Linked DNA regions of Homo sapiens: region 1 is linked to region 2. The links are contacts of gene promoters, found by promoter capture Hi-C in human tissues and cell types (Jung and others, 2019). All regions are on one chromosome and are shown on one strand. Each heading gives the region's core, a stretch centred on a gene start or on the middle of the fragment in contact. The rest is flanking DNA. Distances are from core to core; before and after follow the strand shown. Region 1 overlaps SIL1 (SIL1 nucleotide exchange factor). Region 2 holds the start of PAIP2 (poly(A) binding protein interacting protein 2).

The links. Contacts are between HindIII fragments. The study calls those that stand out against the background at their distance.
Region 1: a fragment that was not itself captured here is called in contact with the fragment with the promoter of PAIP2 in region 2 in 1 of the 25 tissues and cell types used here (liver).

Annotation. Positions count from the first base shown.
Region 1 is chr5:138,989,499-138,995,676 of GRCh38, forward strand. The region is part of intron 7 of SIL1 (SIL1 nucleotide exchange factor); the gene reads right to left. Among named protein-coding and RNA genes, the nearest start is that of LRRTM2, 120 kb to the left of the region's middle. The HindIII fragment of the contact is 6,948 bases long and covers 1-6,178 here.
Region 2 is chr5:139,339,384-139,345,584 of GRCh38, forward strand. It overlaps PAIP2 (poly(A) binding protein interacting protein 2), which reads left to right and starts at 2,471. Exons shown (of 4, transcript NM_016480.5): 1 at 2,471-2,597. The HindIII fragment of the contact is 8,924 bases long and covers 1-6,201 here.

The sequences.
Region 1 (6,178 bases), core at 1,592-4,091, 350 kb before region 2:
CACTACACATATCTGAGGGCAGATGGCAGCAGCACAGGAGGGAGGGAAGAAAGAGAGGAAGGAAGACAGGAAGGAAAGGAGAGAGATACGGAAGGAGGGAGGGGAAGAAGGCTGGAAACAAGGGCCGCACTCCTTTATGTAGGACACCTTTTGCCCTCTAAGGCATCATCTAGCTTGATAAGCCCCCAACAGTTTCTCTCCTTTGCAAAAGGGGAAACTGCAGCTCATTTAAGTCACAGTTCATAGTGAGTTACAGGGGTGGAGAGGGTGGCTTTACATGAACTTTGCAGGAACACATCACTTCTGATCCTAGGACTTCTCTAACTGCACGGGAAATGCCATCTGAAGGCCATGTCTTATCCTGAAAACTCAGAGTTTCTGACTCATCTTCTCATTCTGACTGCCAGCTGGCTCTGTGGTCTTGAACAAATCACTGCAGCAGAGGTACTGAGTGGGAACAGAGGCTCCTCCATTCAGCCACTGATCACTGTCCATGGCTCTTTGGGAAAGGCATGCGTGCGACAGGAATTTCACGTTAAGGGTCACAGGTAGGCACCAGGGCTTGCGTCTTCCTGCCCTCTCTTCCTGGACCGCCCAGCAAGTTTACTCCTGGTCCCATTTTTTTGCTTTGGCCTTTGCTTCTCTTTGAATCTTTGTATCCAACCCAATGTGAGCGTACACTTACCCAAGAGTTTTCCATCTAGACAATGAGGACTGTGGAAAGACACTTGCTCAGAGCAAAGGCACCAGTGTGACCACTATGAGGGAAGGTTGTCCTAGGATGCCCACAGAGATCCCAGTCTAATGCCAAACAGCAACTCTAACCAGGGCAGCCTTTAGTCTCAACTCCTTGCCATGAGAATCTAAATGACCAGATAACCGTAGAAGGTAACCTGGGGAGGACTGCTGGGAATTGGGCAGATGACTTTCATTCTATTTTCTAGATGCTTTCCAGCTGGCTTTTTATTTATTTTGAGACAGGGTTTCATTCTGCTGCCCAGGCTGGAGTCCAGTGGCGTTATCATGGCTCACTGCAGCCTCGACCTCCCAGGTTCAAGGGATCCTCCCACTTCAGTCTCCAACCATGCCTGGATAATTTTGTTGTTTTTGTTAGAGATGGGATCTCACTATTTTGTCCAGGCTGGTCCCAAATTCCAGGGCTCAAGTGATCCTCTCACCTCAGTCTCACAAAGTGCTAGGATTAGAGGCATGAGCCCCAAACAGGCCCCAGCTGGCTTTTCTTTTCTTCGTGACAGAGTCTTGCTGAAGTCCAGTGGCGCGATCTCGGCTCACCGCAACCTCTACCTCCTGGGTTCAAGCGATTCTCCTGCCTTAGCCTCCCAAGTAGCTGGGATTACAGGCACCCATCATCACATCTGTCTAATTTTTGTATTTTTAGTAGAGACGGGGTTTTGCCATGTTGGCCAGGCTCGTCTCAAACTCCCAGCCTCAGGTGATCCGCCTGCCTCAGCTTCCTAAAGTGTTGGGATTACAGGCGTTAGCCACCATGCCCCACCCCCAGCCGGCTTTTTAAAACAGTCTTTATCCTTTCCTTTTTCCGGGTGATCTGAAAAATGAAGGCTTCATGACAGGAGTCTCTATAGCCTACACCATCCTGCAATTGCCAGTCAGAAAGAGTAGGAAGGCCTGAGACATTCTGTTTTCTGGCGTGTTGGCCAGATGCTCTGGATGGAGGCTGGGGCACCAGGGCCAGCTATAATCTTTTCCCAGCAGCCTGGCTGAAGTAGCTGTGGGACCAAGGCAACTGATTAAATGCAGAATAAAAGCTGAGAGAAAATGGGATAGAAATAAATTAGCTTTAGACCTCAAGGCTGTGTATGCAAGTGAAATGCAGTAGGGGCTGGGAGGCAGCATGGGAAGTCAGTCTTAGAGATTTCCCTGAAACAAAGGGATTATGGATTGTCCAATACAAGGAAATCCTTCTGTTCCACAGCCACATGACAGCCTCTTTTACTCAGGGCTGTTCATTCCACATTTTGCACACATTCTGAGATAATGGGATACACTAACTCCCTAAAAAAGCCCCAAGACTCCCCCAGCAGGCCTTCTATCCAGGCAGCACAGGCTGCAAAGCAGGGCTGGTCATCATCAGGGTACAGGGTCGATATTTCCTGCCATCCTTCAATAGTTGCCCTCCCTCTATCCTTGACAGATTCTCCACTTTTAAGTATTGAACTATGGTTACAGAAGAAGAGCTGCTGGGAGAGAATACATCTAACTGATCAGAATTTAACAAACAAACACTCAAAAGTATTTGGCAGAAGGAGAGAAGAGAAGAAATACAACGGAGAAGGTTCCCCATCTATGTCCTTGTGACTTAAATATCACAGAGAACCCATCCAGAAGGGGCTTGATCCAAAAAATGGACCATAGCAGCAGAGTTTAGAAGCATGCTTACTCTAGTTAAATCAGGGCTATTTCTAAAAAGGCTGGTCAGAGCTCTCTTTCAGGTTTGCTGCCAAAGGGCAGAAGCCTGTAGGTACTGGACTCCTGATGAGGCTCACTCCAGTCAGTGCCCACTGTACACCTTCTAATGCATACGCAGACCATGGAAGGAAAGCAAGGTGCAGAACGGATGTACTGAGTCCCATGGCAATCACTACACGACTATGGGTGCTAGGCTGAATGAGGAGACCTTGCCACAAATCCCACCTGCTCCCTCCCTATCATTACCTATATCCTCCAGATATCCAAGTCAAAAGCTTGTGTGAGTGATGAAGAAAGAGACTAGGAACCCCACTCAAGACCTTCAGAGAGATGGCCCTTTCTGAGAGAGTCTGCTAGCTCTTCAAACTATAGAAAGAACATGGGCTTTGACATCAATGCTTTAGGTTTGAAGTGTAACCATCCCATAAGTTAACTGCATGCTCTTGGGTGAGGACCCTCCTCTGTGAAGCCAAAATCCTACCCCTCACTCTGGCAGTTGTTGTGAGGATTAAATGAGACAGTATATGTAAAGCCCCTGCCCCTAGCAGGCTCCTTTTCCACAGCCAGCCTTTCTCATATCCACAGCATACCTGGTCCAGGTGAGTCCAGTACTCTCTTGGTATGCTATGCTCTTCTACACATAAGAAATAGAGTAATTGGTAATTTTTCAGGTTATCTTTTCAAACATCAAAAAAATAAATAATCCTTGGGCGCTAAACTACAAGGACACAAAGGCCTAAGAATTATATAATGGACTTTGGGGACTCGGGGAAGGGTGGGAGGGGGTGAGGGATAAAAGACTACACACATTGGGTATAGTGTACACTGTTCTGGTGACAGGTGCACCAAAATCTCAGAAATCACCACTAAAGAACTTATCCAGGCAACTAAACACCACCTGTTCCCAAAAAACTATTGAAAAAAGTAAAATTTAGAAAATAATAATTAAAAAAATATAAATAAATAATCTTATGCTAAACTATTCCAGAGCCAAGAGAAAAGAGAAACTTTTTCTTTTGTAACTGAAAGCTAGCTGAGATGGAAGCTGCTAGTGGTCCCCCACAATCTGTTCTCCCATTCTTCCACAGTAGCAGAATTTTTGCTGGGCAAATAAAGTATAAAGACTATATTTCTCGGCCTCCTTTGCAGGGAGGTATGGCCAAGGCACTACGTTTTGGCCAACAGATTATAAGCAGAAGCATCATTTGACAGCTTCTGGGATCCCCTTAAGAGATTTTTAAGTGCCCTTTACCTCCTCTTCTATGTCGCTCCTTCCACCCTGCTCCCTGGAATGCAGATCTTGCCATCTGGGATGATGAGGAAGGGCTATTCCTTAGGGATGGCATCCTAGTGTGACTCGAAGGAACTCAAGACCCAAGAGTCTACCCACAATACAGTTGCCACACCAACCCAAAGCTGCTGACCTGAAGATGCTGTTTACATGGAAAAAATAAATATCTATCCCATTATGTCATTTTCTGTCACTTCCAGAAATATGATGTCTAGGCCACAGCCAGACGCATCCTTGTGTAATTACCTCCCATTGGGTGTGGGAATATGACATGCTTCCAACCAATGGAATACGGCAAAGGTGACAAGATATATACGACTATGTGTATGTGATTACACTACGTAAGACGGTAACATCTGTTTTGCTGAGAAACACTCTCCCTTGCTGGCTCTGAAGAAGCAGGCTGCCATGTTGTGAGCTGCTTATGGAGATAGCCATGTGGCAAGGAACTGAGGGCAGCCTCCCACCAGCAACAAACTAAGGTCTTTAATCTGACAGCCTGCAAAGAACTGAACTCTGCCAACAACCACATCAGTTTAAAAGGAAATGCTTCCCAGTCAAGTGCCATATTAGACCCTAGCTCCAGCTGACACCTTGGACTACGGCAATGCAGAGGACCCGACAAAGTCACACTTGGACTCCTGACCTACAGAAAGTGTAATATAATAAGTGTGCATTGTTTTAAGCCACTAAGTTTGTGAGAATTTGTTACATAGCAATAGATAACTAATACAATGACCAAAAACATTTATTTCAGAAATGTAAGGATGATTCACTACTAGATAATATATAAATAAATTCATCAACCTATGGAAGATATCATATTTAGTGGTAAAATATTAGAATCATTCCCTTTAAAGACAGGAAAAGGATAAGGATGTCTACTAGTATTTCAATAAACACTGTATTAAAGGTGCTAGACATTGCAATAAGAAAGAGAAATGGAGGATAAAGATTGAAAAGAAACAAAATTATTTTTATATTAAATGATACGATTATCTACAAATAACATCCAAGAAAAAATGTAAACTATTAGAACTAATAAGACATCAGCAAGTTTGTTGGCTATAAAGTCATATACCAGCAACAAACAATTATAAAATAAAAACTTGAAAATTAACCTCTTTACAATAACAAATACTATGAGGTAATTAGGCATAACAAAAGAGATTGATTCACTACCTATATGGAAAAAATTATGATGTTTTATTAAAAGATGTGAGACCATCTAACTGGAAAGACATATCATGTTCATGAACAGAAACACATTTTATAAATATGTTAATTCTCATAAATTAATCTATACATTTACTGCATTCTAGCTTAAATATCCAGTGTTTTGTTGAGCCTCACAGAGTATGCCTAAAATCCATATGGAAGAGTAAAGCGCCAAAAATATCCAAGGCAATTTTTAAATTAATAAATAATAGATGTACATATTTTGGGGATACGTGTAATAAATTTTTAATAAATTTAATTTCCGGGACACACGTACAGGACATGCAAGTTTGTTACATGTAAACATGTGCCATGGTGGTTTGCTGCACCTATCAGCCCATCACCTAGGTATTAAGCCCTGCATGCATTAACTATTTATCCTGATGCTCTCCCACCTCTTGCCCCCCAGCCAACCACCCCAACAGGTTCCAGTGTATGTTGTTCCTCTTCCTGTGTCCATGTGTTCTCATTGTTCAGCTCCCACTTATAAGTGATAATATGTGGTGTTTGGTTTTCTGTTTTTGCATTAGTTTGCTGAGGATAATGGCTTCGAGCTCCATTCATGTCCTGCAAAGGACATGATCTTGTTCCTTTTTACAGCTGCATATGTACCACATTTTCTTTATCCAGTCTATCACTGATGGGCATTTGGGTTGATTCCATGTCTTTGCTATTGTGAATAGTGCTGTAATGAACATAGGCATGCATGGGATACATGTGCTATTTATTACATTCATATAATTTGTAAATATCAAATCAGTATAATTGGGATATCTATCACCTTAAATATTCATCTTTTTTTTTTTTTTGAGACAGAGTTTCACTCTTGTTGCCCAGGCTGGAGTGTAATGGCGTGATCTCGGCTCACCACAACCTCTGCCTCCCAGGTTCAACAAATTCTGCCTCAGCCTCCCAAGTAGCTGGGATTACAGGCATGCACCACCACGCCTGGCTAATTTTGTTTTAGTAGAGACAGGGTTTCTCCATGTTGGTCAGGCTGGTCTCAAACTCCCGACCTCAGGTGATCCGCCCACCTTGGCCTCCCAAAGTGCTGGGATTACAGGCATGAGCCACCACGCCCCACCTTGTCTTTTCTTTATGCTAGAAATATTCAAATTACATTCCAGTTATTTTGAAATATATTATACAACAGATTATTGTAAACTATAGTCACCCTACTGATCTAGCAAACAATGGTGCTACTGCTTCTATCAAACTGTA
Region 2 (6,201 bases), core at 1,221-3,720:
TAATATTGCTACATTGAAGTTTATTTTGCATGTGAGCAGAGTGTCCTTATGTCTAGAGAATGCCAAGGAAATACTGGGCCCCTGACGCTTAGCCACTGTGGTGAACTCTCAGTGCGATCTGGAAATTGAGATCTTAACCCCTTTGTGTGGGAAAAACAGCATTGGCCTTTGAGTGTTTCACATGATTTATCAAATATTTTTTATTACCATTATAACCAGTTAAGTGGCTTGTGTTACTAAATAACAAATTCAATTATCTCATGTTTACCTTTTTGTTTATTTGTTTGTTTTAAGACAGAGTCTCACTCTGTCACCCAGGCTGGAATGCAATGGCATGCTCTGGGCTCACCGCAACCTCCTCCTCCCGGGTTCAAGCGATTCTCCTGCCTCAGCCTCGCGGGTAGCTGAGACTACAGGCATGTGCCACCACATCCGGCTAATTTTTGTATTTTTATTAGAGATAGGGTTTCACCATGTTGGCCAGGCTGGTCTCAAACTCCTGACCTCATGATCTGCCCGCCTCAGCCTCCCAAAGTGCTGGGATTACAGGTGTGAGCCACCGCACCTGGCCTCATGCTTACCTTTTAAGAGAGTCTGGGTTAGGCCAGGCCCTGTGGCTCACGGCTGTAATCCCAGCACCTTGGGAAGCTGAAGCGGGCAGATCATTTGAGCCCAGGAGTTCAAGACCAGCCTGGGCAATATGGCAAAACCTCATTTCTACAAAAAATTCAAAAATTAGCCAGGCATGGTGGTACACACCTGTGGTCTCAGCTACTTTGCAAGCTGAGGTTTGAGGATTGCTTGAGCCAGGGAGGTTGCGGCTGTAGTGAACCGTGATCATGCCACTGCACTCCAGCCTGGGTGATGGAAGACTGTGTCTTAAAAAGAGAGTCTGAGTCATCTCAGACTATATAAATACCTATTTTGTTATGTTCAGACTTCCTTCAGCCTCAGATTGATAGCTTATCTTCACAGTTTAGAATATAGATCTGTAAGTGCTGCCAAGGTGGTTGACCCAGGAGCTAGGGCAGAACCATCTGCATTCATTTCTTTGGGGCTTTGGACTGGCCCAGAAGAGTATTCAGTGAATGAAATAGCTCTGAAGAGGAACAACCCGGTTTCTAAATTCAAGCCTTCCCATGGAGGGAATTTTTTGTCTTAGTAAATACTACAAGCATATAGTTTTTAAAAGATTCAAATTTTTCAGGAGAAAAGGATAGTTATTTGCACCCATTTCCTAGTCGGTCATTTGCCCTCTCCAAAGGGAAGAAATTAGTTTGTGTCCCTTTTTCAAAGATAGTATCTACACATTTGAACATCCAGATTTGTAAAACACATACTCTCGGCCGGGTGCGGTGGCTCACACCTGTAATCCTAGCACTTTGAGAGGCGGAGGCGGGTGGATCACGAGGTCAGGAGATCGAGACCATCCTGGCCAACACGGTGAAACCCCTATCTCTACTAAAAGTACAAAAATTGGCCGGGTGTGCTGGCGTGCGCCTGTAGTCCCAGCTACTTGGGAGGCTGTGGCAGGAGAATCTCTTGAACCCGGGAGGCGGAGGTTGCAGTGAGCCGAGATGGCGCCACTGCACTCCAGCCTGGGCAAGAGAGCCAGACTCCGCCTCAAAAAAACAAAACAAAACAAAAAAACAAAAACATACTCTCTTCTTTACATTGCTTAGTGTCACTAGAAATATATCTTGGGGCTTGTCAACGATGACAGGAAGGAAGCATGGGTAAGAATAACTATGGGGCCAGTGCACCCAGGATCACGGACTACAAAATTCTTGAACCCGGAGGTCACACTTTTCTATCCTGTGTGGACAGGGCATTTCCTCCTTTAGCCACAAAGAAGTTGCACATGTATTTGTATTTTGCGTTTGCATCCAGCTTCAAAAAGTGTGTTTTTGTGCCTGCACATGTCTGAGTGCGGATGTTTGCATATCATTTAGTACGCCTCTGTGATTTCCCTTAGTTTATTATTTTTCTGTGTCAGGATCTTGACGTGACTCGGTGCATGTCGCTGTTTGTGTGACATTGTGTATCATTCTTGGGGTGTGTATGGGTATGTGTGTGCTATGTCATTACCTAAATATTACGTTTTTGGGGGGGTGTGTGATGTCTGTGAAAGTCCACGCCTGTGTATCTTGTCAGGGTGCTCTTCAGTCCCCAGCTGCCTCACTCATTGCATATCATCATTCTCGGAAGATGGGCGGGTGTGGGAACAGTGGTACGCCCCCATTCCTGCCTTCCAGAGAGAACGTGCGACAGCGTTCCTGCTACACCCGGCAGCCGGCCGTAGGGGCGCGCTGGAAAGGCTGCTGCGCGTGCACACGTGTGCAGCCTTGGAGACAGACTTCGGGGTCGCGCGTTCTCGCGCGCGCTCTCTAGTGGCTTCGGAGGGCAGAGCTGACAGAACAAGAGGGCGGGGTTGGCGGCGACGGAAGTGAAGTCACTTCCGGGCTGGGGTGTTTGTTTGGACTGGAGAAGGGAGGCGGCGGGCGAAGCGCACGTCGAGCGGGGGAGCGGCGCTGCCTGTGGAGATCCGCGGAGGCCGACAGGATTCGTTGGCTGCCGTCCCCGCTGCTGTGCATTGGGTGAGGGGTCCTCTCGGGCAGAGTGGCGACAGGGGTGCGGAGGTCGAGGGACAGCAAGTCGGCGACGGCAGAGGGGCCTAAAGGGTTCCCTGGGTGGTTGGCCACCGAGTCCATTGCGGCCTCCGTTGTTCATTGCCTCTTTCCACCAAGTCTGAGGGATGAGCTTGGGCCGACTTCGTCTCTGTCTTCTCCGAGACATGGCCGTCGCTTTTTTTTCATTGTCATTATTAATGATTTGGATCTCGCAGCTCTCTATCCGGGTCCTCAGTGGCGCGAGGGTTGCCGGGATAGCACTTTCTCCTGTTCCTCATTCTCCCGGTCCTTTATCCCTCCGCCGGGTACCCTTTCCCCTGCCCCCCTCCCACCGCCTCGGCAACAAAGCTTATTGTTTCTACCCACTTTACGCCTGCGCGTCGCCACGCGCAGCCCCTACTTGCTGCGCGTGCGCGCCTCAGCCGAGGCTGGGGTTTGGGGAGAGAGGGGCGGAGGGACTGGCGGGCTCTTGGCGTCTTGGGGGAACGCTGCAACCGTCGACGGGCCTGATCAGAAGATCGTCTTTCTCCCGTTTCTTCGCCATCGCTACCCCTTATTTTTGGTTGTATTGCAGCTCATGCCCTGGAAAAAAGAACCTTTGGGGTACTGGGAACCCTTACCCTAGGAGGGCGTTGAGTTAGATGAACTTTAAGGTCCTCTTACCTTTTAATAATTTTCTGTGCTTACTCTCCTCCTTCCCCACCATCGCCACCAGAAATAAATAAGGCTTGTGGTGAACTTAGGTCTTCAAAACATTTGTTGCAGCAGCCAGCAGTGATATTTTTTAGGGACTCCTAAAAGGGGTCTTACCTGCTTCCTTTTGTTTCTTTTTTCCCTGATTTGGCACCCGTATCAACTCATAAAAACCCCAAACTCTAGAAAGAATTTGGCTTCCAATTTGCCTTGGAAGGTGTAGCAGCTGACAGCCTTTGACGTTTATTTCAACGGAAAGTAGATGTTCATGTTGGGTGTGCTGGCTAATGTTGAAACGTGGTGGCATTGTTTTTTCACAGATTTCATTAGCACAGTTAGATCAGGTGTTGGTTTATATTTTCATTAAGTCGCTTTTGAAATTTCTTCTGGCGTAGGTTGTGTTTGCAATAAGTAAAAGTTCTCTACAATAATTTTTAATGAGACTCCACTATTTGCTTTTGTGATTCTGTTTCCAGTTAGTGAAAGACAGGATATTTGGGGAAAATTAGTCTGTTTATACTACTTGTCAGTTGTGAACTTGAATAAAACTTTTTCACACACACACAAAATCACAGGATAGGTAACTTGACAAGAACTATAGAACCCACTTGTGTTTCTTTAAGGGATGGAGGTTAGGGAATGGAGATTTCCTCTAATGATTCAAGGCTGTGCACGTTGCTCCTTAGGAACTCAAATTGAGGTAGGTAATTTCACCCTCTTTTGGTCAGAATGAGTTTATAGCAGGCTTTTCCTTAAATAAGCACTCTGCACTTTATTCAGGTTTATCACTTTATGACTCTAGAGTGTGATGCTCCAGTTTTAGTGAAAAACTTGAACACTTAGCACAGCAATTTGGTTGATACTGTGGGAGATTAAAGAATGTGGAAGGCAAGACCTCTGCCCCCTTGTAATCTAATAACCTTTTGTGCTTTTAAAACATTTTCTTGTAATTTACATCCTATTGTCATTCATTATCATGAAACGTGAAATGGGCAGAGCAAGTTTTTTTTTTTTTTTTTTTTTGAGATGGAGTCTCACTCTGTCGCCAGGCTGGAGTGCTGGAGTGCAGTGGCGCAATTGGCTCACTGCAACCTCCGCCTCCCCGGGTTCAAGCGATTCTCCTGCCTCCGCCTCCCTAGTAGCTGGGACTACAGGCGCTTGCCACCACGCCGGCTAATTTTTTGTATTTTTAGTAGAGACAGGGTTTCACCGTGTTAGCCAGGATGGTCTCGATCTCCTGACTTTGTGATCCGCCCCCGTCGGCCTCCCAACAGAGCAAGTTTTATCTTGCCCATTTGGGAATTAAAGAAATAGAAGCCTGAAAGATTATTTTTATTTAGCAAATATTTATATAACAATAATGCCAGGCATTGTTCTCATTGCCTTTACAAATATTAACTAATTTGATCCACAACATAGCTAGAAGGTAGGCCCTACTGTAAAATGAAGATAACAAATGAGACGTGAAGTAACTTTCCCAATGTCACAGAGCTATGATAGTCGGAATTCAAATCCAGATAGTCCAGAGATTCTATGCTCTTAACCATTATGTGGTGCTGTGTGATTTAGTGACAGGTCTAGGGTACTTTAAGGTGGCTATGTAGCATAGCTGGGATTTGAACCTACGTCTTCTGACTGTGGTCTAAGATTAAAGTTGTCCAAGTCATTGCCTTTGTGATCTAGACCACCTGTTGCACAGGTGCATGAATAGTTTGCATTTGATATAGGCTAAGGTTCAGTTCCAAAAAACTCCCTTTTTTCTTAATTTTTTCATTGTTTAGAGTGGTGCTGTCCAATGATGTAGGTACTGTGTGTGGTTATGAGCACTTGAGATGTGGCTAGTGTAAATGAAGAACTAAATTTTAATTAAATAGATCTGTGTAGCCGATGGCCACCATATTGGATGGGCACACGTTTGGAGAATTTGAATAGCCTCTGCTTCTTATATCAGTTTGTATAAATTTGGGTGGCATTTCTAATGTACTTGAGCTTTTATCAGTTAGGATGACCCATTCTTGCTCTCACCTAATTACCCTTGTTACACTACAGTTGAGATTAGGGTAGACTTTGGGATTTTCTTGTGACATTGTTTCACCTCTGTAGATTTAAGATCTCTAATTTTTACCTTGTCCCTTGGTCTAGAGACCTTTAACTGCCCTAAATATTTAATCACCGAGATAGTTAATGCCAATTGTTATGTGCTAGGTTCTCTAACTAGGTACTATTATTAATTCCCATGCAACAGATGAGGAAACCGAGACTCAGGTTAAGTAACTTGCCATGGTCACACAGTTAGTAAAGCAGCCTGGTTCCAGAGCCCATGGGTTTTTGTTGTTGTTGTTGTTGTTGTTGTTTTTGAAACGGAGTCTTGCTCTGTTGCCCAGGCTGGAGTGCAGTGGCGCGATCTCGGCTCACTGCACGCTCCACCTCCAGGGTTCATGCCATTCTTCTGCCTCAGCCTCCTGAGTAGCTGCACCCGACACCACACCTGGCTACTTTTGTTTTTGTATTTTTAATAGAGACGGGGTTTCACCGTGTTAGCCAGGATGGTCTCGATCTCCTGACCTCGTGATCCAACGGCCTTGGCCTCCCAAAGTGCTGGGATTACAGGTGTGAGCCACCGCGCCCAGCCCAGAGCCCATGTTTTTTAATCGTTACCTTACTGTGCCAAATAGTAAAACAAAAAATTCGGTGCTTTTCACAGACTTCAGAGTGGAAAACAGACCAATTGAAAAATGTTGCGATCCTCTTTAACTGCCAAAGGAAGTATGCTTAAACGTATATATGCGTAAAATACGATTAAAAAATATGCAAATAAGGTAAGGATCACAGTGGTTCAAAACAGAGTCCAAGGGAATGAGAAAAGATGGTGCCTATG